7 separate regions of the Homo sapiens genome follow, and regions 2, 3, 4, 5, 6 and 7 are each linked to region 1. Evidence: promoter capture Hi-C in 16 types of primary human blood cells and fetal thymus (Javierre and others, 2016). All regions are on one chromosome and are shown on one strand. Each heading gives the region's core, a stretch centred on a gene start or on the middle of the fragment in contact. The rest is flanking DNA. Distances are from core to core; before and after follow the strand shown. Region 1 holds the start of VSIG4 (V-set and immunoglobulin domain containing 4). Region 2 has its middle 10 kb from the start of LAS1L. Region 3 has its middle 61 kb from the start of MSN. Region 4 has its middle 35 kb from the start of MSN. Region 5 has its middle 13 kb from the start of MSN. Region 6 overlaps MSN (moesin). Region 7 has its middle 230 kb from the start of EDA2R.

What was found. The method cuts DNA at HindIII sites, captures the fragments that hold promoters and counts their contacts. A CHiCAGO score of 5 or more calls a contact.
Region 2: a fragment that was not itself captured here is called in contact with the fragment with the promoter of VSIG4 in region 1 in 11 of 17 cell types (activated CD4 T cells, fetal thymus, monocytes and 8 more); the score reaches 9.4 in activated CD4 T cells.
Region 3: a contact is called between a fragment that was not itself captured here and the fragment with the promoter of VSIG4 in region 1, in 14 of 17 cell types (M0 macrophages, monocytes, neutrophils and 11 more). The highest score is 22.0, in M0 macrophages.
Region 4: a fragment that was not itself captured here is called in contact with the fragment with the promoter of VSIG4 in region 1 in 10 of 17 cell types (neutrophils, naive B cells, monocytes and 7 more); the score reaches 10.3 in neutrophils.
Region 5: a fragment that was not itself captured here is called in contact with the fragment with the promoter of VSIG4 in region 1 in 8 of 17 cell types (non-activated CD4 T cells, activated CD4 T cells, neutrophils and 5 more); the score reaches 8.4 in non-activated CD4 T cells.
Region 6: a fragment that was not itself captured here is called in contact with the fragment with the promoter of VSIG4 in region 1 in 14 of 17 cell types (M0 macrophages, neutrophils, monocytes and 11 more); the score reaches 16.4 in M0 macrophages.
Region 7: a fragment that was not itself captured here is called in contact with the fragment with the promoter of VSIG4 in region 1 in 4 of 17 cell types (naive CD8 T cells, total CD4 T cells, total CD8 T cells and 1 more); the score reaches 6.1 in naive CD8 T cells.

What each region holds. Positions count from the first base shown.
Region 1 is chrX:66,038,404-66,041,773 of GRCh38, reverse strand. VSIG4 (V-set and immunoglobulin domain containing 4) reads left to right here and starts at 1,694. Exons shown (of 8, transcript NM_007268.3): 1 at 1,694-1,830. The coding sequence starts at 1,776. The HindIII fragment of the contact is 1,000 bases long and covers 1,198-2,197 here.
Region 2 is chrX:65,543,509-65,546,878 of GRCh38, reverse strand. No RefSeq gene overlaps it. Among named protein-coding and RNA genes, the nearest start is that of LAS1L, 10 kb to the right of the region's middle. The HindIII fragment of the contact is 178 bases long and covers 1,742-1,919 here.
Region 3 is chrX:65,604,609-65,607,978 of GRCh38, reverse strand. It overlaps a transcript of MSN not described here. Among named protein-coding and RNA genes, the nearest start is that of MSN, 61 kb to the left of the region's middle. The HindIII fragment of the contact is 2,023 bases long and covers 739-2,761 here.
Region 4 is chrX:65,630,618-65,633,987 of GRCh38, reverse strand. It overlaps a transcript of MSN not described here. Among named protein-coding and RNA genes, the nearest start is that of MSN, 35 kb to the left of the region's middle. The HindIII fragment of the contact is 6,924 bases long and covers 1-3,370 here.
Region 5 is chrX:65,653,164-65,656,533 of GRCh38, reverse strand. It overlaps a transcript of MSN not described here. Among named protein-coding and RNA genes, the nearest start is that of MSN, 13 kb to the left of the region's middle. The HindIII fragment of the contact is 5,100 bases long and covers 1-3,370 here.
Region 6 is chrX:65,677,942-65,681,311 of GRCh38, reverse strand. All of the region lies in intron 1 of MSN (moesin), which reads right to left. Among named protein-coding and RNA genes, the nearest start is that of MSN, 12 kb to the right of the region's middle. The HindIII fragment of the contact is 1,055 bases long and covers 1,297-2,351 here.
Region 7 is chrX:66,403,854-66,407,223 of GRCh38, reverse strand. No RefSeq gene overlaps it. Among named protein-coding and RNA genes, the nearest start is that of EDA2R, 230 kb to the left of the region's middle. The HindIII fragment of the contact is 4,229 bases long and covers 1-3,370 here.

The sequences.
Region 1 (3,370 bases), core at 445-2,944:
ACAGAGCCAGGCTTATCTCCAGGTTTCTGACTTCTCATCCAATTCTTTTACTAATCAAGAGGGCTACTGAGCCTACTGCAAGACTGGAAGTCTTTCCCAGCCTTGAAGTAATGTTGTGCATACTCCCCAGGACATTTATTTATCTTCAGATCCAGGAGGTCCTAATAAAATGCAAGAGGTAGCACAAAACACACAATCACCTGGCCAGGCAGAAATTTACATCTGTCCAGTGGGCTTTTTAGCGGGGAAGGGGAGGGGTGTGTGTGTGTGTATGTGTGTGCGTGTGTGTGTGTGTGTGTGTGTGTGTGTCTGTGCGGTGGTGGTGGTGTAGTGGTGATAGGGTGTTGGTTGAAAAATATCAAAGGAGGGTTCTGTGAAGTTCAGGGTTTCCTGAGTGAGGACCCGGTGGGAAAAAATGGCTGAAATTTCCAGTGAGATGGAATGAGTGCAGTACTCAAAAAACAAGGAACAACCAGCCAAGGGGGATTGGGCCCTAGAGGCAGAGGTGATTGATAGAATTCCATGTAATAATGTGTCCTGAAATGCTGGAATGTCTCCTTAGCCCGTGCACAGCTCCAAATCATCTGCATGCAGCCACCCCTTGGCAAGTATGTTTCTTTATATTCCCACTCCCCATCTCTGCACAAACTCCTCCCTCCCCTGACCAAGTCCTTTCCTATCCCTCCAATCAAAGAGTAAACTAAGCTTAGCTGTTACTTACAGTGCAGTATGAATTTTTGGGATGTATTTGTGCTTTTGAAAGTGCTTATTGTTTCAAAGCTTAGTAGACAAAGCGCAGTGCCAAACCTAGTTAGACTGCTGATGAAATTACAGTCACTCTGGGGCCTGTGAAGAGGAGCAATTTCTGGAGCAGTTGAGCTTTGCTAGGAGGCATAATATTACTCTCTTGTAGGTCAAGGGCCTGTACCAATTGGAAGTCAATGAAAAATTCAACCTAATACAGCATACCACTAATGGGCTGCTGCACTGGAGGCTAGGCTTAAATTTCCCTTAAAAGAAGTAAAAAATAAATTCCTTATGAAAAAGCATGGAGAACATTAATGAAAATGAATTCTCCCTTACCATCAGAGAGGTGGAGCCATTGTAGAAAGTGATTCAAAGAGCTTCCCCAATATGAGATATGAGGCATATTCACCCATAACAGCCTTATCCATTGGCTTGTCAATTATTCAAGCTTTGATGTGTAGAAAGCCCTTTAATACACTAAACTCTTGTACTCTTAAGCCCAAAAGCACCCCGGGCCCAACACCCTGTCCAGTTGCATAGGCTGCACAGGCAAGGGTTAACAGTACAACTAATGAAAATTGGGTAGGTCAGCAAAGTTGATCTCTTCTCCCTGGGCTCACCACAAAGGAAAACACCGCCATACTGGAGTGGGAAGACTCATCCCAAAGGTCGCCCCCACAACCTCTGAATCTTGTGGAGGAGACTCAAAATAAATACAGCCTAGGAGATCAAAGACCAGAAAGCCCCATTGGCTCCAAGGAAAGTCAAGTCAATACCCTAGCAGGGGGAAGAATTGCTTCACTCATCCTGGAACCTCCAACCCCAAGGAGGTGGGGGAAGGGGGGCACCCCACATGACCTGTACTGAAATAGGGAAGGAAGGGGAATGTGTGATGGGACTAGGAGTTTGAGTGAGAGATATAGGGAAGGAAGGGAAGTAAGCAGTCACAGACGCTGGCGGCCACCAGAAGTTTGAGCCTCTTTGGTAGCAGGAGGCTGGAAGAAAGGACAGAAGTAGCTCTGGCTGTGATGGGGATCTTACTGGGCCTGCTACTCCTGGGGCACCTAACAGTGGACACTTATGGTAAGGCAGAAAGGGGGGCCTGGCTGCCATTGCTGGCTTAGGCAAAAGGCTAGAGGGTTGGTGTTTAATGTCTACTATGGAAAGCCTATTCCTACTGGGCAGGTGAGTCTTCTCAGCCAAACTCTGCAGGCTCTCTCAGCCTTGAGCAAAACGGATGGATGTAGTTGAAGGCTGCTGAAGAAGCCAGAAGGCAAGTTTGGGCAGAAATTGAAAAAGGATTTTTCTCTTGGAAAACATCTGCATTATTTTCTAGGGCTTGTATCTCAGGGGCATCAAGAAGGTTCCCAATGACATCCGAATCTTTCCTCCATCTGCTGTCTCTCATCTAAAATTCTACAATTGGACTTAACCACTCTGCTTCCAAGCTTTGGTCTCTGTTAAAATATACAGCCCCCGAAGAAGGAGTGTTTTCTAAGAGTTGGATAGGACTATAGAAGTAACCTATACCACCCTTCATTGTCATGAATAAGTGCTCAGAAACATCCAGTAGTGATTGAGATTTCACTGTTCACTACCTCCCCAGACCATCTAGTCCATCCAGGAGCAGCTCCAACTGTTAGAAAGTTCTTATTTGTGTTGAACTAAATCCAGTTCCCTCTGACTTCCATCCAAAAACCCCAGCTTTGCTTCTTGGGGCTACACAGAACATAGATGCTTCCTTGCCCTGTGATAGCCCTTCAAAGCCCTGAGGACAAGTACTATGTCTCCTTGACTCTTCTCTCCTCCAAGCTGAACAGCCCCAGCTTTTTCAACTGGTCTTCATAGGACTTGGTTTCTTACCCATTCCTGGGATAACTCACTTCCCTATAGACATGGCTCAATTTGTCTGGGCTATTTATGGGCTGGATACAAATCCCAAAGGAGGATGGACTATTCCATAGTGGCATTATTTCCTTGGAGCTTGGGAAGCTCTATCCTCATCTACACTCCTGAGAAGTGAGATGGATTTTCAGGAAACTCAACCTGGGTAACAGCTAAGTGAGATCCAATATAGGGTAAAGGGGGATTTTGCTGCTTCCCTATCATCCCTAGAGAAAAAGGCTGGATAGGTGTTAGCTTGGTGTCACTTGTTAGGTCAGAAAGAATCCAGCTTTCCGTAGCTGACTCTGATTAGGTTACCCTATCCTGGGGCTCTGTGACCCATCACACTCTGGAACCTCAGAGTTAGAAAAGACTCTGAATTAAGTCAACCAAGAGAAAAAATAATTTGCCCCCAAGCCAAAGAGCATTAGTGGCAGAGTTAATGCTCCTGAAAAAACATTTTTCTTTCTATAACTACCACATTTCCATTCTCTAGCAGGTTTTATAATGTATCTCTCTACCTTCTCCAAGTCTGTTGGTTTGAGCTAGGGCTTAAGCCTGGGGCTTGAGGGAGCATTTTAGAAATGTTAAATTTAAATCCTTTGTTTGTGTGTGTGTATGTGTGTGTGCATTCATGTGTGTGTGTGTGTGTGTGTGTGTGAGAGAGAGAGAGAGCACTCATGTGTCTTGTTCCTTCCCCAGCCTATGAGCTTTTCCAGACCTGGAAGCAGGCCTTCCA
Region 2 (3,370 bases), core at 581-3,080, 500 kb after region 1:
AAATATTTTTAAAAAATTAGCCAGGCATGAGAGTGTACACCTGTGGTCCCAGCTACTCAGGAGGCTGAGGTGGGAGGATCACTTGACCCCAGGTGGTCGAGGCTGCAGTCAGCTGTTATCATGCCACTGCACTCCAGCCTGGGTGACAGAGGAAGACTCAGTCTCAAACAAAACCAAACAAACAACTTATATGTTGGACCTTAAACCCCAAGGTGATGGTATTAAAAGGTGGGAACTTTTGAGAAATGATTAAGTCATGAGGGCTCTGCCCTTGTGAATGAGATTAATGTCCTTATAAAATAGGCTTCAGATAGCTGCCTGGCACTTTTATCTCATCTGCCATGTGAGAACACTGTGTTCATCCCTTTTGCTCTTCTACCATGTGAGGATGAAGCAAGAAGGAGCCATCTCAGATGCAGACAGCAGTCCTCACCAGACACTGAATCTGCCAGTGCCTTGATCTTGAACTTCTTAGCCTCTAGAACTATGAAAAATAAATGTATGTTGTTTATAAATTATCTTGGCCTGCGGTATTTTGTTATAGAAGCAGAAATGAACTAGGGCGCCTTCACTGTTGTTCAGAGATGGAACCGATCACTCCCTCTTTTGCATTCCCTCTGGCTTCTCTTACAGTACTCATATTCAGCCCCGATTTCTACTTATTTAAGGAGCAAAGCCCAGAAATGCTAAACAAATTGCCAAAGAATTCATTGTTAGTAAGAGGCAAAGACCTAGGTTGGGGAGGTGCTTATCTCATTGAGGGCAGGGATTCCATCTGATTTCTTTGTTTTCTTAGTTCCCAACACAAAACCTGGCAAGTAGAAGTGGCTCAGTTTGAAAGGATGGAAAGAAGAGGGATAGAAGAGGAAAGAAAGAGGAAAAGCAAACTTGCTTCTGGGATTAGTTTGGTATTTGGCACTAGTTACCTTCCCTGAAAACTGTCAGACAGAAGGCAGAAGGCACTTTGCAAAGGATCATGAACCAGACCATGTAAGGCACCTCCATCCTAATCAAACTCAGCAAGTTGAAGAGAAGGAGGCAGTAAAGGAAAGTGGAGGATATTCCAAGAGAAGCAGAAAGGCTGAGAAGAGTTTGAGAAAAACAAAAAGACAGATATAATCCTGAGGTGCAAATATAGACTTATTCAGGAGGCCGGGAAAGAGGCCAGGATGTGGTAAGAGGGATGAAGATTAGAAAAAGGCCAAAGATTAGCCAGATTCACATCATGGCCAAAGTGCTCCATGACAAACTTGAGAAAAAGGGCACCAGTCCAGCCCTGGCTTGAGCTTATAGGGGAGTGCAGAACTCATCTAGGATATCAGTTGCTAAATGTGAGGGGAAGGAGAATCAGGAAAATTAAGGCTCAGAGCCTCCCAGCTCAGGCCTATGTAATCACCTCTGCCCTAACTGGTATACCACAGTAGTTGAAGCCAGGGGTCAACTAGCAAAGGCCCAAGGGACATATAACCCAAATAATGAAAGGCTTGAGGCAGGCTCAGAGGACATGGTCAACTCTCAATTATCCACATGCTAGTAAACAGTGGATTATTCACAAGGTTTTTTGTTGTTATTTGTTTTGAATTCAAACCTGATTTTAACCACTTCAACACACCACCTCTTCCTCCTCCTACCACCTTCCCCAGGCAGCCAGCATCCTCTGAGAGGCTGACTGTGACTCCTTCTGGGTCTTGAAGGCCTGTACCTATACCTCGCTGGAGTCAGGGTTCTCAGGGAGGAAGCTTTGGAGCACCTGATCCAAGACCTTCGCCGTCTGCCCATAGAGAACCTGGAAGGGAAAGAAGATTAAACAGTCCTGGAATGGCTGAGGCTCTAGGCTCTCAGTGGGAGTAACCATAGGTGTGGAATGCTGTTATTGAGTTCCTGTCAGATGCCATAAACACCTTTCCTTTTTTCAAGCTTTCCTCACAAATCACCCTAAAAGTTAGCATGTATTAACCACATTTTGCAGGTTGAGGAAACAGACTTAGAAGGGGACGTAATTTCAGCCAAAGTAATAGAGCATTTAAGTAGGAGGTAGATTCTGCACCCACGGTTCCCTGAGTTCTAACTTCATGTTCTTGCCAATATATCTGTTGCTTCTGAAAGACCTTTCAAATCACAGAGAATTATTTCTTTTCTTTAATCAACACATGTAGCAATGTATATTATTTCTTTCTGTCCCTTTACTTTTTTCTCTTTTTTCTTACCTTTCATTTTGTTCTTCTACTTTATTTTTCTTCTTGCCAGCCTTCCATTATTTTCTCTGTCTTCTTTCCTCCCTTACTTTCTATGTACATTTGCTTCCTAATATGGAGGATCCTGCTGTAAGAATTGTGGAAATCAATCAGCTCATAACCCCTGTTTTCCAGGAGTTCCCAGTAAAGCACCTACAGATACAAATTCACATGTCCACAGGATCACACGGGATATAAATAAATTCACCCCATTGCTTCTAGTACAGCATAATAAAAAGAGAACTTGGGTTGGAAATCTGGGTCTCAGTCTCTGCTTTGTCACTTACAGTATGACCTTGGGAAAATCACATTACTTTCTTGAGCCTCTGTTTTCTTATCTAGAAAATGGAAACAATAAAACTTGGTCTACAGGCTTCACAAAGGAGCTTCAAGGCTGGGCGTGGTGGCTCACCCCTATAATCCCAGCACTTTGGGAGGCCAAGGCAGGCGGATCACCTGAGGTCGGGAGTTCGAGACCAGCCTGGCCAGCATGGTGAAACCCTGTATCTACTAAAAAATACAAAAAAAAAAAAATATTAGCTGGGTGAGGTGGCAGGAGCCTGTAATCCCAGCTACTCAGGAGGCTGAGGCAGGAGCATCACTTGAACCTTGGAGGCAGAGGTTGCAGTGAGTCGAGATTGCACGATTGCACTCCACCCTAGGCAACAAGAGCAAAACTCCATGTCAAAAACAAACAGAAAAATTAGCCGGGTGTGGTGGCACATGCTTGTAATCCCAGCTACTAGGGAGGCTGAGGCAGGAGAGTTGCTTGAACTCAGGAGGCAGAGGTTGCAGTGAGCCAAGATTGTGCCACTGCACTCCAGCCTGGGTAACAGAGCGAGACTCTGTCTCAAAAAACAAACAAGCAGACAAAACACACACACCCATACACACACGAGAAAGATAAGAAGATATAAATAAGGAAGAAAGTGTTATGTAAAGCATCCAGTCTGTAGTAGAGAAGTAATAAATGATAGCTCCTTTTCCAATACCATGATGCTTCTTGTATCATTAATTGAGCTGGAGTTGGCCTGGCATGCTGGCTCATACCTATAAACCCAGCACTTCGGGAGGTCAAGGCAGGAGGATCGCTTGAGTCCAGGAGTTCATGGCTAGCCTGGGCAACATAGTGAACC
Region 3 (3,370 bases), core at 501-3,000, 430 kb after region 1:
CTTGTATCTTTTTATTTCTTAATTTTAATTGAGACAGAGTCTTGGGCTCACTTGGGCAGATCACTTGGGCTCAAGTGATCCTCCTGCCTCAACCTCCTGAGTAGCAACAATTACAAGCATGTGTCACCACGCCCAGTGACTTTTCCTTATATTTGCCTTTATGGTGGGAGAGGTTGAGCCCCAGAACCATGTCCCCTGCCTCCTGTCTTTCAAACATTTGGCTCAGGATAGGGCAGAATTGGAAGTGAGGGCAGGGAATGGTCTGGAATAGCAAAGACCTCCTGGGTTCACATAAAGGCATGGAGACAGGACCTTACCCAAGAACCCAGGCTTAAGATTGACAATTGGGTACTTGTTCTGTAGCCACCACCACTGGTCTCCTTCCTGAAGTTAACTCTCAGTGCCTTATTCTATGATATCATGAATACAAGGGTGCCAGGGTCTTTCTTCACTGCTAAATGTGCCTTTGGGTGACTCCTTCCCTGACCCTGTGTCTCTATTTTCCCCATCTGTCAAAGGAAACCCAGTTATGAGGTCTACTCTATCACCACAAGGAATGGAGAGTACATCGGGGTTATATCAGGCTTGGTGTAGGCTGGGAGTTTTCTCCATAGCTTCATTTTCTCAAGATCTCCCTCTGGGTCAGAGGCCCTGCAGGGGTTCCTTTGTATCATTTTAGAGCCAGAACTGACTTGTCAAAAGCAGTATGTTATAGTGTGATGAGTAAGCTGGCAAGCTTTGTGGTCAAACTACATGCACTTGACTGCTTACTACTTAACCTAAGGCAAGTTGCTAAACTTCTCTCGCCTCAATTTCTCTCTCTTAGAAATGGGGCTAGTGATATCTCTCTCACAGGGTTATTTCACGGATTAAATGAAAAGATGTATAAAATACCTGGTCCATTGAAAATACTCATTAGATGTTTGTTGAATAAATGAATAAACTAAGTAATACAGTTCTACTCAGGCTTAATATCACAGATCCAATAAATATCAAATATAATTCCTGCCACTCAGTGTGTGACCCACTGGAATATAAGCTCCATGAAGGCAAGTCATTTATGTCTGTTTTGTACCTCAAGCTCCTAGAACAGTAACTTGCAAATAGTGACTGTTTGATAAATAGTTTTGCATGAATGAATAAGCAAATGAATTAATACTATATTGCAGCTACTGTGTTAGGCATATGGGACAGAATTCTACGATGGACAGTCCCTGTTCTCATGGAGGTTACAATCTAGTAATTAAATTGATGATCAGCCTGGGCTCAGTGGCTCATACCTGTAATCCTAGCACTTTGAGAAGCCAAGGCAGGAGAACTGCTTGAGTTCAGGAGTTTGAAACTAGCCTGGCCAACATGGCAAAACCTCGTCTACTAAAAATACAAAAATTAGCTGGGCATGGTGGCACATGCCTGTAGTCCCAGCTACCCAGGAAGCTGAGGCAGGAGAATAGCTTGAACCTGGAAGGTGGAGATTGCAGTGAGCCGAGATTGTACCACTGTACTCCGGTCTGGGGAACAGAGCAAGACTCTGTCTCAAAACATAAAAACAGGCCGGGTGTGGTGGCTCACACCTGTAATCCCAGTACTTTGGGAGGCTGAAGCGGGTGGATCACGAGGTCAGGAGATCAAGACCTGCCTGGCCAAGATGGTGAAACCCCATCTCTACTAAAAATCCAAAAATTAGCCGGGCATGGTGGTGGGCGCCTGTAATCCCAGCTACTCGGGAGGCTGAGGCAGAGAATTGCTTGAACCCAGGAGGCGGAGGTTGCAGTGAGCCAAGATCATGCCACTGCACTCCAGCCTGGTGACAGAGCGAGACTCTGTCTCAAAAAAAAAAAAACATAAAAACAAACAAAAAACAAAAAAAATCCTCGGTATGGTGGTGCATACTTGTAGACCCAGTCACTCAGGAAGCTGAGGTAGAAGGATCGCTTGAGCCTGGGAGGTCAAGGCTGCAGTGAGCTGTGATCATGCCACTGCACTCCAGCATGGGGGACACAGCAAGACCCTGTCTCAAAAATTGATTGATTAATCAATTAATGAAATTAACGATTGAACCTAGGCTTAACGCTGTGAAGGAGAATGACGGGATGCTGTGAGAGTGACACACAGAAGGAATTTCTTAGTCTGGGATATGGAAAAGAGTCTCTCAGAGCCAGTGAATATCTGAGCTGATGCCTGAGGAAGGAGTGAATCAGGTGATTAGTAAGGAGAGGAGGTGGTGATGGGTTTGAGCTGTTCAAATACCAGAAAAATGATCAGAGTGGCTGAATCACGGTGAGAAAAGGAGTGAGTAGTAGGAGAAGGAGTTGGAAACATTTGCAGGGACTAGATCATGTAGGCTCTTTTGGGCTATAGCAAAAAATTTGGCTTGTGGTCCTCATGTGATGGAAAGACACTGGAGAGTTTCATGCAGGGGATTAGCATGATCTATGTTTTACAAAGATTCTTCTGGATTTATTGTAAAGAATGGGTTGTAGGGGGCAAGGGTAGAAGCCAGGAGACCTGTAAGGAGGCTAGGGCAAGTCATCCAGTTGACAGATGATAGGGACTTGGACTGGATTGGTGGGAAGTAAATGAAGAGAGAGGTGGATGTGTTAGGGATATATTCTGAGTGTAGCAGGACTTGCCGATAGGCTGAATGGTTAGGGGTAATAAGAAAGAGGAGGCAAAGCTAACGCTTAGATTTCTGGCTTGCTACCTGGGTGGATGATGGTGCCATGTTTCTTTGGCAGGAAAGATTGTGTAGGAACAAGCTTTGGAGTGGCAATGTTCTGTTTTGGCTGTCTTTGATTTACCAGTGGTAAATGGAGAATTTACCAAATGGTAATTTACCAAACGGAAAGGTCAAACCAAATGGAGATGTCAAATTATCAAATGGTAATTTATCACATGGAGATGTCAAACATTAATCTGGAGCCCAGGACAGAGGCTGAGGCATCTTTAATAGGATTGTAAGTCCTGAGTGTGCTGGAGAAGCCATGGGCTAGGTGCGAACAGAGGAATGACATAAACCGACTTTTGTTTTTAACATGATCACTCTGAATGCTGGGTTGAGCATTGACTGTAGGGAGGTAAGTATGGAAGCAGGGAGACCAGGAAGGAGGCCACTTCAGTCATATAGGTGAAGTGTGATGATGGCTTAGACAAGGGTAGTGGTGGTGGAGGTGGGCAGAAGAGGTTAGGTTCAGGATAAATTTTGAAAAGAGCCAATGGACTTTGATAATAGATTGAATATGACAGGTGAAGGAGATGGAAGAGTTAGAGGTGATCCCCAGGTTCTGGGTTTGTCCAATTATGTTGATGGTGGAGCCATTCACTGAGGTAGAGACCACTAGAGAAGAGCAGATTTGGGGGAAAGATGTTT
Region 4 (3,370 bases), core at 600-3,099, 410 kb after region 1:
AAGGGGATGTGGTCTGGTGGTAAGACACTGGACCGAGTAAGTTCAAGGCCATACTCTGCTCTTGAACTGATGTGTGACATTGGACACATGACCATTCTTCTGAAACACAGCCTCTTTCTTAATAAAATGAGACTAATATCCATCATGTTAGGGTTCTCATGGCATTTCTGTGAGAATGAACTATCGAAAAATACAAGTGTGAGAAAGGTTCCTTCCTATTATTACAAATACCTTTAGAGAATGTTAGACCATTGAAGGCTGACATGCTTCCTGATACAGATGAGGCAACTAAGGCTCAGAGGAAGAAGAGGCTGGCCCAAGGGAACACAGCCCAGTTTACAGCGGACCAGTCCGAGAATGCAAGTTTCCTTATCAGGCCAAAGTTTTCTGAATTTCACTAGAGCAGGGACAAAGGAGAGAGCAGGAAAGCCTGTGAGAGGCCTGGGGAAATACAGGTCACACTGGGGCAGTGAATTAAAGAATGGAAATCTGGGATCTGGGTTTATTGTCTTAATCAGAACTGAGATGTGATTAATTAAGTGTTTATGGCCATGTTTGTGCTTTGTTTGGTGGTAGGTTAGAGAAGAATTGTAAATATGCCTAATGCATAAAGAGCTTTTTATAACAGAAGCCCTTGAAAAGGGAGCATGCCAGCCTACCAAGGGTCCCATGAAGAAGTCACCTCCTTTCCAGTGGGCATCTGGGCAGAAATTTCTGAAGAAAAGGGGTGCAAAAAAAGTCTCCACCTCGGTCAGATATCACCCTTGGGGATTCTGTGGCTCTCCAATGTCTATGGGGGTAAAGTCTAAACTCTTTTTTTGTAACAAGTAGGTCCTTGCTTGATCCCTCACAATGTCCTCCCCAGCTACATCTCTGGCTTATTCCCACTACTACCTCCCTAACCTACAGCCATATTAAATCTGTGGCTACCATAATATGCCCTTTCTGTCCTCTCTGCCTGAAATGAATCCATGCCAGCCCTCCCTTTGCTTAGCTAAGCTAACTTATCCTTCAAGGCTTAGCTGAGGATTACTTCTCCTGAGAAATCCTCCCTAATGATCCTTCATCTTCAGTCTGGAGTCCCATATTTTTTGGATCATGACTCCTCCATTTAGCAATCTGGATTAACATTATTTGTTTCCACATCTTTGTCTTCCACGAGATAATAACTACTTTGATGGCAGGGACCATGTCATCTCCATCTATGTAGTAATAATTATAGCTAACATTTATCTAGCTGTGCCAGACACTTTATACACGTGAACCTTCACGAGTCCCACTGAGGTAGGTACTATATGCCCAAGTCATACAAAGAGACATCACTACACAGCTATCAGAATGGCTACAATTAAAAAAACAGCGACAACACCAACGATGTGAAGAAATTTAAGGAACTGAATCAGTGAAGGATGTGAAGAAACTGAATCACTCATACATTGTTGTTGGGAATGTAAAATGATACAGTCATTCTGAAAAATAGTTTGGTAGTTTCTTATAAAACTAGAAATGCAGCTACAGTGTGACCCAGTATGTCTTAGTCTATTTCATTCTACTACAACAGCATACCACAGATTGGATCATTTATAATGAACAGAAATTTATTGACTCATGTTTTCTGGAGGCTCGAAAGTCCAAAATCGAGAGGTTAGCATCCGGCAAGGGCCTTCTTGCTGCATCATCCCATGGCAGAAGAGCAAATAAAGGGTAAGGAAGAGACGGTAAAAGGGGGCCAAACTTCCCCTTTTATAATGAGCCCACTCCCACGATAACAGCATTAATCCATTCACTCCAGCCTCATGGCTTAACAATCTATTATTAGGCCCCACATTCCAACACTGTTGCATTAGGGGTTAAGTTTCCAACACATGATTTTTGGGGGACACATTCAAACCATCGCTCAGTAACTGCATATTTAGGCATTTATCCCAGAGTATTAAACATTTCTGTTCACAAGAAAACCTGTACAGGAATGCTCATAACTGTTTTATTAATAATAGCCCAGGCTGGGCATGGTGGGGTGGGGTGGGTCATGCCTGTAATCCCAACATTTTAGGATGCTGAGGCAAGAAGATTGCTTGAGCCCAGGAATCCGAAACGAGCCTGGGTCTTTAGTTTGATTCCATGTCTACAAAATATAAAAATGAAAAAATCAGCCAGGTGTAGTAGCACATGCTTGTCCCAGCTACTTGAGAGGCTGAGGTGAGAGGATCACTTGAGCCCAGAAGGTTGAGGCTGCAGTGCGCCATGATCATGCGACTGCACTCCAGCATGGGCAACAGAGTGAGACCCTGTCTCAAAATAAAGTAATAATAATAGCGCCAAACTAGAAACTGCCCAAATGTCCTTCAGTGGGTGAATGGATAAACAAGCTGCGGTGCATCAATAACATGGAATACTATTCAGCAGTAAAAAGGAATGAACTATTGATATAGGTGACAATTTGGATTAACTTTAAAAGAATCATACTGAGTGAAAAAAGTCAATCTCAAGGATTACACATTGTAAGAATCCATTCATATAACATTTTTGAAAGGACAAAATTAAATGCATGGAAAACAGAATAGTGGTTGTCAGCGGTTAAGAAGGATGTAGGGGGCTGGGCACGGTGGCTCACATCTGTAATCTCATCACTTTGGGAGGCCGAGGTGGGCAGATCATTTGAGGTCAGGAGTTCAAAACCAGCCTGGCCAACATGGTGAAATCCCATCTCTACTAAAAAAACAAAAATTATCCGGGCATGGTGGTGGGCGCCTGTAATCCCAGCTACTCGAAGCTGAGGCAGGAGAATTGTTTGAGCCCGGGAGGTGGAGGTTGCAGTGAGCAGACATGGCGCCATTGCATTCCAGCCTGGGCAACAGAGCGAGACTCTGTCTCAGACAAAAAAAAAAAAAAGAAGCAGGATATAGAGGTAGATGGGAGGTAGGTGTGACTATAATAGGACAACATGAGAGATCTCTGTGGTAGTGAAAATGTTCTGCATCTTGACTATATCGATGTCAATATCCTGGTTGTGATATTACACAATAGTTATGCAAGATTTTATGAGTGCAGGTAACTGAGGAAAAATGCAGGGGACTATAGTATTTATTTCAACTGTATGTAAATCTACTATTATCTCAAAATTAAAATTTCAAAAAATTTTTAAAAGGAAGTATTGACACATGATATGATATGAACCATGCAAAATTGTACCAAGTGAAAGAAATCAGTAACAAAAGACCACAAAATGTATGATTTCATTTATATGAAATATTCAGAAAAGGCAAATCCATAGAGATAGAAAGTAGACTAGTGGTTGCCTAGCGCTGGGGTAAGGAGGGTGAAAGGAATGGGAGTGACTGGTAAAAGGTGCAGGGTTTTTGAGGGTTTT
Region 5 (3,370 bases), core at 264-2,763, 390 kb after region 1:
AGGCATAACCTTGGAGCTCATGACAGGTTGCTCAGCTAGGCCAGAGAAGAGAGGGATCTGCTCATTTCCAGCCTTGCAGGCCTATCAACTTGTATTATGTTCAGTTTCTCTAAGGGCACACATTCCCCTTCACATTGCCTCAACTTATCCTGTTAGGAGACAAGACTAATGGAACAGATTCTCCTATGTCATCACTTTCTCTCTCCCAACTCACAACAACAAACACAATACACACACACACACACACACACACACACACACACACACAGGCATAGATCTTTTCAGCTCTGCTCCCAGTCTGCCTTAGGTAAACACTATACTGTGTACAAAGAGGCATTTACAAAGACATTCACTGCAATACTATAATAATCAAGGGAAACAACATAAATGTCCATCACCAGAGCACTAATTAAATACATTATGGTATATCCATACAATAATTCAGCCTTTTGAAAACACAAGCTATCAGCCAGGCATGGTGGCTCATGCCTGTAATCCCTGAACTTTGGGAGGCCAAGGCGGGTGAATCACCTGAGGTCAGGAGTTCGAGACCAGCCTGGACAATATGGTGACACCCTGTCTCTACTAAAAATACAAAAATTAGCCAGGCATGATGGCAGGCACCTGTAGTCCCAGCTACTTGGGAGGCTAAGGCAGGAGAACAACTTGAACCCGGGAAGCAGAGGTTATAGTGAGCCAAGGTCACGCCACTGCACTCCAGCCTGGGCGACAAGAACAAGACTCTGTCTCAAAAAACAAAACAAAACAAAATAAAACAAAAAAACCACAAGCTATCATGAAAAGAGGTTTCTGATCTATTAGACCTATTAGAAGATTCAGGGAGATGTCTATGTCTTCTTCTGAATCAGACTTCTGAATGCCAAGAGGCAGAGCTGGATCAAGTGGGAGAAAGCCACAGTGGGACACGAGGGAGAAGGTTTGTATAGTCACAGCTGTCCAAAACTGGAGAGAGTCATTCAAAAAGTACTGAGGTCCTCGTAATTGAAAGTTTGTTGACAAAGGTTACATGACCCCATACTCTGGGAGGTTGAAGAGAAAATTTCTATGCCCTAAGGGTCTATAAAATCAATATGTAAGAAGCCCTCAAATAAAAACAGAGCCATTTTCAAATCATTATGTCATTCACTACCAAGAACATCTTAGGTAATCAGAGTGTCAATCCATATATGACAGATAAGGTAACTGAGGCTCAAGGAAGTAAGGTCACTTGGCCATGATCTCATTATAAGTAGGGTCTTGAAACAAGCCTATCTGACTTTATTATTCATCCTATAATGAAACAAGCCTATCTGACTTTATTATTCATCCTATAATGAAACAAGCCTATCTGACTTTATTATCTGACTTTATTATTCATTCATTCAACTATCTGACTTTATTATTCATTCATTCAACAATTTTTTGTGTGTATGCTTACTACACAAAAGGCACTGTACTAGGCTCTGTGTATACAGACATGAAAAAAACAAAAGTTTCTACCCTTACAGGGCTCACAACCTAGTGAGGGAGACAGACAAAAAAAAAGGAATATAATATATTTTTTCACCACTCCCCACATCCTAAGTGTTGAGGTATGGGGATAAAAGACTTCATCTCAGCAGGGCCAATAAAAACTATTACCCTGGCATAAAAAGCTCCCACCTACAACGCTCTGAAAAAACAGTCATAGGTGACTGGACAAGGAACAGAAAGCAGGATGGGTCAGGGCTTTGAGCAGACCCTTCTCCTCTTACTAAGACCTCCATGAGAGCACAACCCAAAAACTCCTACTGGCCACTGGTGGTGTATATGCTTTATTCATACGTATATGCCTTTATGTATATATAGCAAGATAGCTGCACATTTTTTTTTCTTTAGTATATGTATGAGGGAAAGAGAGAGAGAGAAAGTGCCACCTTGAAAGCAGTAAATTTTGGAAACAGAACACCTGGTTTTAGTCTGTTTTTCCAATAACTAGTTCAGCAACTTTAGGTAAATCAGTTGATTAACCCAAGCCTCAGTTTCCTGTAAAAATTGGGGTAATAATAATAGCTACCTCCCAATATTTTTGGCCAGGAGGATATATAAGGTTGGCTATAAGAAGGGTCTTTGCAAGGCCAGGCGTGGTGGCTCGCCTGTAATCCCAGCACTTTGGGAGGCCGAGGAGGGCCGATCACGAGGTCAGGAGATCAAGACCATCCTGGCTAATGTGGTGAAACCCTGTCTCTACTAAAAAATACAAAAAAAAAATAAATAAAAAATTAGCTGAGTGTGGTGGTGGGCGCCTGTAGTCCCAGCTACTCAGGAGGCTGAGGCAGGAGAATGGTGTGAGCCCGGGAGGCGGAGCTTGCAGTGAGTGGAGATCGCGCCACTGCACTCCAGCCTGGGCGACAGAGGAAGACTCTGTCCCAAAAAAAAAAAAAAAAAAAAGAAGGGTCTCCATAAAATGATTGCATAGAGCCAGGTGCAGTGGCTCACGCATGTAATCCCAGCACACTGGGAGGCCGAGGCAGGCGGATCACCTGAGGTCAGGAGTTCAAGACCAGTCTGGTCAATGTGGTGAAACCCCGTTTCTACCAAAAAATACAAAAAAATAGCTGGGTGTAGTGGCAGGCGTCTGTAATCCCAGCTACTCGGGAGGCTGAGGCAAAAGAATCACTTGAACCCGGGAGGTGGAGGTTGCAGTCAGCCGAGGTCGCGCCACTACACTCCAGCCTGGGCAACAAGAGCAAAACTCCATCTCAAAAAATACATACTTCCACATAGAAAAAGTGTGGTCATAGCTATGTGTATGTGGTATATAAATGTAGGTTCTGGAGTCTTCCTGGGCCCCCAGATGTGCCTTTGTTTGGCCATGTGTATGTTATCCATACACATGGATAACATACACATGGAGCAAACAGGCTCCCATGCTTGCCTGTTTATGTGCCCATTTGCTTGTGTGTGTGTTGTTCGGCCTAATCTGTATTTCCAAGTCAGCCTAATGTATAGTAGCCCCTTCCTCCCACCACTTACGTTCCTAAAACACTTTTTCTCATTCTTTACTCCCTAGTCTCAGACCAGAACACATTTTAACATTATTTTTTTTCTGAGAAATACAGGCCTCAAACATTCCTAACTATTTTTAAGAGACTTCCCCCTACTTCACACTACACCAAAGGCATTGGTTTATATTCAGCCTAGCCATGTATTTACATGAAGATGTGAGCCCATATGTGGCTATGTCTCAGTGGGGAAAATGCGGGGCCATCCCCCAGGTTTGAAGTGCCCCTTCAAACCAGCCACATCATGTGTTCCTGAGCCTCTCCAGTGGCTCCAGAGAATGTGGTGTTGGCAAAATAATGCCACAGGGGAAGATGAGAAGCCATTC
Region 6 (3,370 bases), core at 575-3,074, 360 kb after region 1:
GAAAGAGCAAGCCTAGGAGCCCAGATGGCTGCAATTCTGCATGGTAAATAACATAACAGAAGTTCTTACAAAGTACAGTGGGCACATAGAAGATAGTACAATACTATCTGGGAGTAATAAAGAAAGTTTCCAATGGAAGTGACATGGAGTGGGGGGGAGATGAAGAAGAGGCACCTGAAATTTCAAGCTGAAGGAAAGAACATAGGCTAAAGCAGAAAGAAGAGGTATGGCATTGCTTTCCACAGTTAAAAAAAAAATCATGGCCAGGTGCAGTGGCTCATACCTGTAATCCCAGCACTTTGGGAGGCTGAGGTGGGTGGATCACTTTAGGCCAGGAGTTCAAGACCAGCCTGGCCAACATGGTAAAACCCTTTCTCTACTAAAAAAATACAAAAATTAGCCAGGTTTGGTGGCACATCCCTGTAATCCCAGCTGCTAGGGAGGCTGAGGCACAAGAATCGCTTGAACCCAGGAGGTGGAGGTTGCAGTGAGCCAAGATTGGACCACTGCACTCCAGCCTGGGCAACAGAGTGAGACTCTGTCTCAAAAAAACAAAACAAAACAAAACAAATTCAACCTGAAAAAGCTGGATGAAAAAAAGAAAAAGGACGGGTATAGCTTACTTGGACTTGGGAAACCTTGGGCCCACAAAGCTACCACATAGCATACATGTGGGAATAAATGGGAGCTGAGTTGGGAGAGGAAGCTAGAATGGGGTGAGGTACCAAAGGGACCTCCCTATATGCTATGCTAAGAGGTTTCAATTTTCTCTTTTCACATTCATGGGAATGTATCTATACTAGCAAATGCTGGGAGTAATCTAAATGCTCCCCCAAAGGAGAATGGTTTTAAATTATGGCATAGCCTTTGAATAGAATTTTACATGGCCATTAGAATGTTCATTTCTTAAAATTAAATAGCATTTATCTAAGTTTTTAGTGATGTGTTAAGTAGGGGGAAAGAAGGAGAACTTTTTTATGTACACTATGATTGCACCACCAAAAACTAAGGTACATATATGAGATACGACAAGAAATACAAATAATTATTGCCATGTTAAAATGATGAATTTATACACAATTTCTCTCTCTATTTGCTAAACTTTGTCATATGCCATGCTGAGTTTTAAAAAAAGGGGAAATATAAAAAAAGAACCACTCTTCTTCCATTTGACTCTACATTCCTTCTTCCTCCACCTGCTTGCCTACCTTCCCAAACCAACAGCCATTTTGATCCACCACCTACAACTGGCATCGCTAACAACCCATGTGAGGTACCTAGGAAGAATGAGAAGCTTCCAGCAAGGCAGCTGCTTCCAGCAGCAAGCTCCTGCATAGCCCACAGGCCATTCCAGCTCAATGCTGGAGAAGAATCTTCCCCCTAACAGCACTGCCCAGCACTACCCAACTAAGGCTTCTCTGGTTAAACTGCCCAAGGATGCCCAAGGAACTTGTTTCTAAAGGAAGGAAAACAGATGCCAAGACTTCTTGTGCTTTCTCCAGGGGGCTCAGAGCAGGTAAGGTTTATGTTCATGGCCAACTCTTAGGTGGCTGAGATCCAATGTGGGATCCTTGTTTCACAAGCAAGCACTGGATAAAGTGTCAGTGAGAAGGACGAAAAGGAGGAAGAAGTAGAGGATGGGTAAAAACAGATCCAGTGAAGGGTACACCTTTCCCATAAACTTGCTTATTCCCTATCAGCCTTGTAGGCCCTCACAGAAAATTCAGAAGTCCCTCTCCTTTGATCTCCAGGACTAATACCAAAGGAAACCATATTTACAAAATACAGGATCAGTTGAAAGCCCAACACTAGGTGTGTGGCAATCTTCCTGACTAGAAATTCTCCCTTTTGCTCCACCCAAGCCCATATCACCTAGCTCTCCCCGTCCAAGGGCAACATAGTCAACAATGATTCAGATAGAGGAAGGGGAAAGGGAGCTTAGCAATTTAAGACTCAGTCAAAAGCAATTTCATAGCCCTACAAAAAGGGATGTTGTGGGGGAGGGAGTAAAGGAAGTGAAATCTCATATGTCCTCAGTTTTAGCTTGTTTCTTTGTCTTCCCTTTCCCTGATGGAACAATGACCAATCCAAGGGTCTTCTATTCTTCCTGAGTCACAGATGACCAAAAATAGCCAGCAACTGTAGTCTGCAGGCTGGACTCCAAGACCCCACCCAAGGCATGTAGTCAACAGTTGTCTCTCCAAGCCAGAATCTCCACAGTGAGCTCTCTGGTAGGTAGATTCAGTATATCCCAGAGCAGAGCTCACTGAAATAGAGGGGGCTGCTTACATGTTGATAGCCAGAGGAGAAAATGACACACTCAATGCCATTCTAAATGGGAAAAGGAAGCTTCTCCGAAAAGTCACCACTCTGCTCTGCTACACGCTTTCCAAGACCCCTTTCCTAGCCTCTTAAAGACTGGGCACAAATAATCAGAATGTCAGAAAAAGCCAATGTCTCTATTTTGTAGATAAGAAAATTAAGCCTCATAAAAGTGACTTGCCCAAGGTCACACAGGCAGAGATTAAAAACCAAATATCTCACTCTTCTTTCCATTGTACCATTTTTTACTAAAAGGTATTTTTAAAGACACCCAGACAAGTGCCCCAAGCTGTAAGTGTCAAAAGCTCAGCTCTTCTAACCTAAAGTTAGACAGCTCAGGACTGGGAAGGGGAGGTAGAGGGAACTTAGACTCAGCCCACCCAGGAAAGCCAAGTGAGAAGGCTAGGCATACAACAGGCATACTTAAAGAACTAGACTTACCAACTGGAAGGCTTTACCTGCTCCAAAGAAATAGTTTCAAATGCTGAAAGCCCTAGCCCCATCCCACCCCCACACTCTGAACCTCTTTAGGCCAATCGAGACCACTCCTAGGCTGTCAGAGATCTAGGTAAGAAGCTGTAGAGGAGTGACCAGGCAGTGCCAAGAGGATAAAGGGAGATAAGAAAGCAGGGTGGAGAAATCACAGTCATTCCAGAGCTCTCCCATCTTCCTCTCTCCTTCCCCACTCCTCCCCCATATTAGGACTCTAAACAAGAAGAAAAGAAGTTTGCAGGTGGTATTGTATAAACTTGAAGAAGGCATTCCCTGTACTAAAGGAGAACAGAGGACTAGTTGAGGTGGGGTGGCAAGGAGAGGGAGTAACTTGAGGGGGGAGAAAATAGCCAAATAAGGCAGACTTGACTGGTAGGAATCATCAGGAAAGGTTCCAGAAGTTGACGTTGCAGGGAGGAAGCCTTTAGTCATCGGTTTCCTCTGGCAACTGGCCTAAGACCAGAAGGAAAAAAACTCCCAACCTTAGGAAAATGCCCAGGCTATGGCAGACAGAAAGGCAACTAGGCTAGATTTTCACCAGGCCCACATCAGGCCC
Region 7 (3,370 bases), core at 642-3,141, 370 kb before region 1:
TCATGGAGACAAAAATGCTTATGTGATGTGAATGGTAAAGTCCAGGCTTATGAGATATCAGTCAGAAAGAAATGAAGAACATTTGGTGAACTAGATCAAACGTCACTCTTTTATGCCTTAGCAAAGAACTTGGCTGTATTGTGTTCATGTCCTAAGTATCTGTGAAACTTTGAACTTAAGAGTGATGACTTCAAGCATCTGTTGAATAAAAGTTTTTAACCAGCAAAGTGTTCAAGATGTGGCCTGTCTGCTTCTAACAAACTATGCTCAGATGTGAGGGCCAATCAGTGACTTAAAGTTGAAATTTATATTTAAAAGGTGAGCAGGCACATCACATGAGAAAAGCAAGAGCAAAAAGAGAGAGAATAGGGGGAGGTGTCACACTCTTTTACACAACCACATCTCATGGAAACTCATTCACTATAATAAGGATAGCACCATGCCAGGAGAAATCTACTACCATGATCCAAACATCTCCCAACCAGCCCCATCTCCAACGTTGGGGGTTACAATTCAACATGAGATTTAGAAGGGACAACACCTACATTGGGTATCACCTACATTGTTAATTTTTAAAAATTGTAGTAAATGTGCTTATACATTGGATACAAAATTAGACATTTTAACCAATTATAAGTGTACAATTCAGTGGCATTAATTACATTTATAAGATTTTGCCACTGTCACCACTATCAATTTCCAAGACTCTTTTACTACAAACAGGACTTCTGTACTAATTAAGCACTAAGTCCCCATTCCCCATTCTCTATAATTTTGCTAACCTCTAATCTACTTTCTGCCTCTATACATTTGCTTATTTTATGTGGTTCATACAAGTGGAATTATATAATATTTGTCCTTTTTTGTCTAGCTTATTTCACTTAGAACAGTGTCTTCAAGTTTTAGTCATGCTTTAGAAAATATCAGAACATTACTCATTTAATGGTTGAATAATATTCCATTGTATGTATATATCACATTTTGTTTATTCATTCATTTGTTGACAGACATTTGTGTTGTTTTAACCTTTTAAATAATACAAATAATAGTTCAATAAACATTGACATATAAGTATCTGTTCACATCTCTGCTTTCAATTTCTTTGGGTATACACCTAGGAGTAGATTGCTTTAATTTATAAATGGTAGTGATTTCCCCTAATTCATTTCTTACTTTGCTTATTGAGTCTTCTCTTTTTTTCATAGTCAATCTAGATAAAATTTGATCAATGTTGTTGATAGTTGCAAGGAACCAACACTTCATTTTTCCTATTTTCCTATTTTCTATTTTACTTATCTCTGCTCCACTCTTTATTATTTTATTCCTTCTACCAGTTTTGAATTGTTTGTTCTTTTTTATTTTATCAAAGTGTAATGTTAAGTTGTTGATTTGAGGTCTTTATTCTTTTAAATGTAAGCATTTATAGCTATACATTTCTAACCTAGGACTGTCTTCACATTATACCTAAGTTTTGGTATGTTGTGTTTTCATTTTCATGTGTTTCAAGATATGTCCTAATTTCTTTTGTGATTTCTTCCTTGACTGAATGGTTGTTTAGAAGTATGTTGCAGAAACCACGGAAAGGGCAAGATGGCCTACTAGACACAGCCAGGTGTAACAGCTCCTACCAAGGAACTGAGATGACTGGAGGTGCTCCTAATAGATCTCCAGAGAGAAGGCAACAGGAGTCGATGTAAGGAAGACACAGAAGCTCGGCTGAATTGGAAGAAAGCTGGAAACACTAGGCAGGGCTGCAGTACACCCAGACTTATTCCTGGTCAACAATGGCTCCATGGGAATAGGTGAGTTGAACAGCAAAGAGCAACCCACTTTCAACATACTCCCTGGGACCCCAGCAGCAGGAGACCCCTTGACCAACACAGACACTCCAGTTGGCAGGAAGAGCTTCTTAGATAAGTGATAGGAGCAGCAAACCAGCTAATGTGGAACCCAGAGGGTTTGATGAAGGAGCATCTGTACAGAGAATGGCCAGAGACAGCCATCGTCCTAGGCTCAACTTGCTCCTGTAGGAGATGTTAGCCTTAGGGGAACTATCAGTTCTGAACTCTGCAGAGTGGTCTTGCCAATCAGAAGGAGCAGGTCAGACCTCAGCACCCTTTGGTCTGCTGGCCTGTCCTGGGGTCTCATCTGGCCACACCTGCTTGCAGGGCAACCTTCGGTTCCCTAGGGGCACAGACTATACATTCTGCACTTGTGGACCATGGCTGACTGGCAGAGAACTTCAGCAGGAAAGACCCTAGGGCCATGCAAGCCCACATGCTCCCTCCCCATACTGTACCTTCCCCTGGGATGGAAAATTCCCACATTGCTTTGCTGGCACATGTCTGTGCAGGTGGTTTTTGCTTTCCTTTCCCTGCCAGCATGCAGAGGTACAGCCTGAATCACCTCACCCCAACTGGCATTGCAGACAAACCATTGGTGGGAAAAATCCAGCCAGCCCCATCACTTCCATCATTCCATCCTTACACTAACAATGCACAGAGAACAAAAGATGATCTCCTGCCCTGAACAACTAACTATTCCTGCTTGTAGGCCATAGGGAAGGCACCCATACCTGCACCCATCAGTGCCCACCCCCCAAGCCACCACCACCTCCAGCACGACCACACACACTAGCTAGCAGTGTACCCCCTCATCCTAGCTGTGCTGTCTCCATCACTGTTGTGAAAGGCCACAGGTAGCTAGGCACACCAGCATCTCCTAGCACTGTGCTGCATCTGCCGATACTGCTGCTGATGCTGCCATGTGCAAATGAGAATGGATTTCACTGTCACCGCACAATGAAATGCTTTGGCTGGCACCACCCATCGAAGTGCAGGGACTAGCTGTCCGGGAGCACTTTGTCCCACCAGCACAGTGAATTTCTAACCTCAAAGAGCCACAGAACAAAGTCAGGGCCCAATACAAGTCCCCCAGAGTTAGAGCATGCAGTCTGGAGTTGGGAGCTAAGTTTTGGACCCCAAAAATCTTCCAGAAATAAAACCATTCAGCTTAATCCACCTTATACCATAATCAAACCCTCAAGTTTATCAAATAAGATAAAACAAAAAAATCCAAACATCACCAACTTCAAAGATTGAAGAAAGGTAAGCCCACAAAAATGAATAAAGAAAAAATCAGTGCAAGAATCCTGACAACTAAAAAACCATAGTGCATTCTTTTCTCCAAATGATCTTCTGAAATGAGCTGAGATGGCTGAAATTACAGAAAAGGAATTCAGAATATGGATAAAAATAAAGATCATTCAGCTATAGAAGTACAATGAAACACAATCCAAGAAAGAGAAAAATTATGATAAAACAATGCAGAGATGACAGACAAAATGAACAGTATAGAAAAAAACATAACC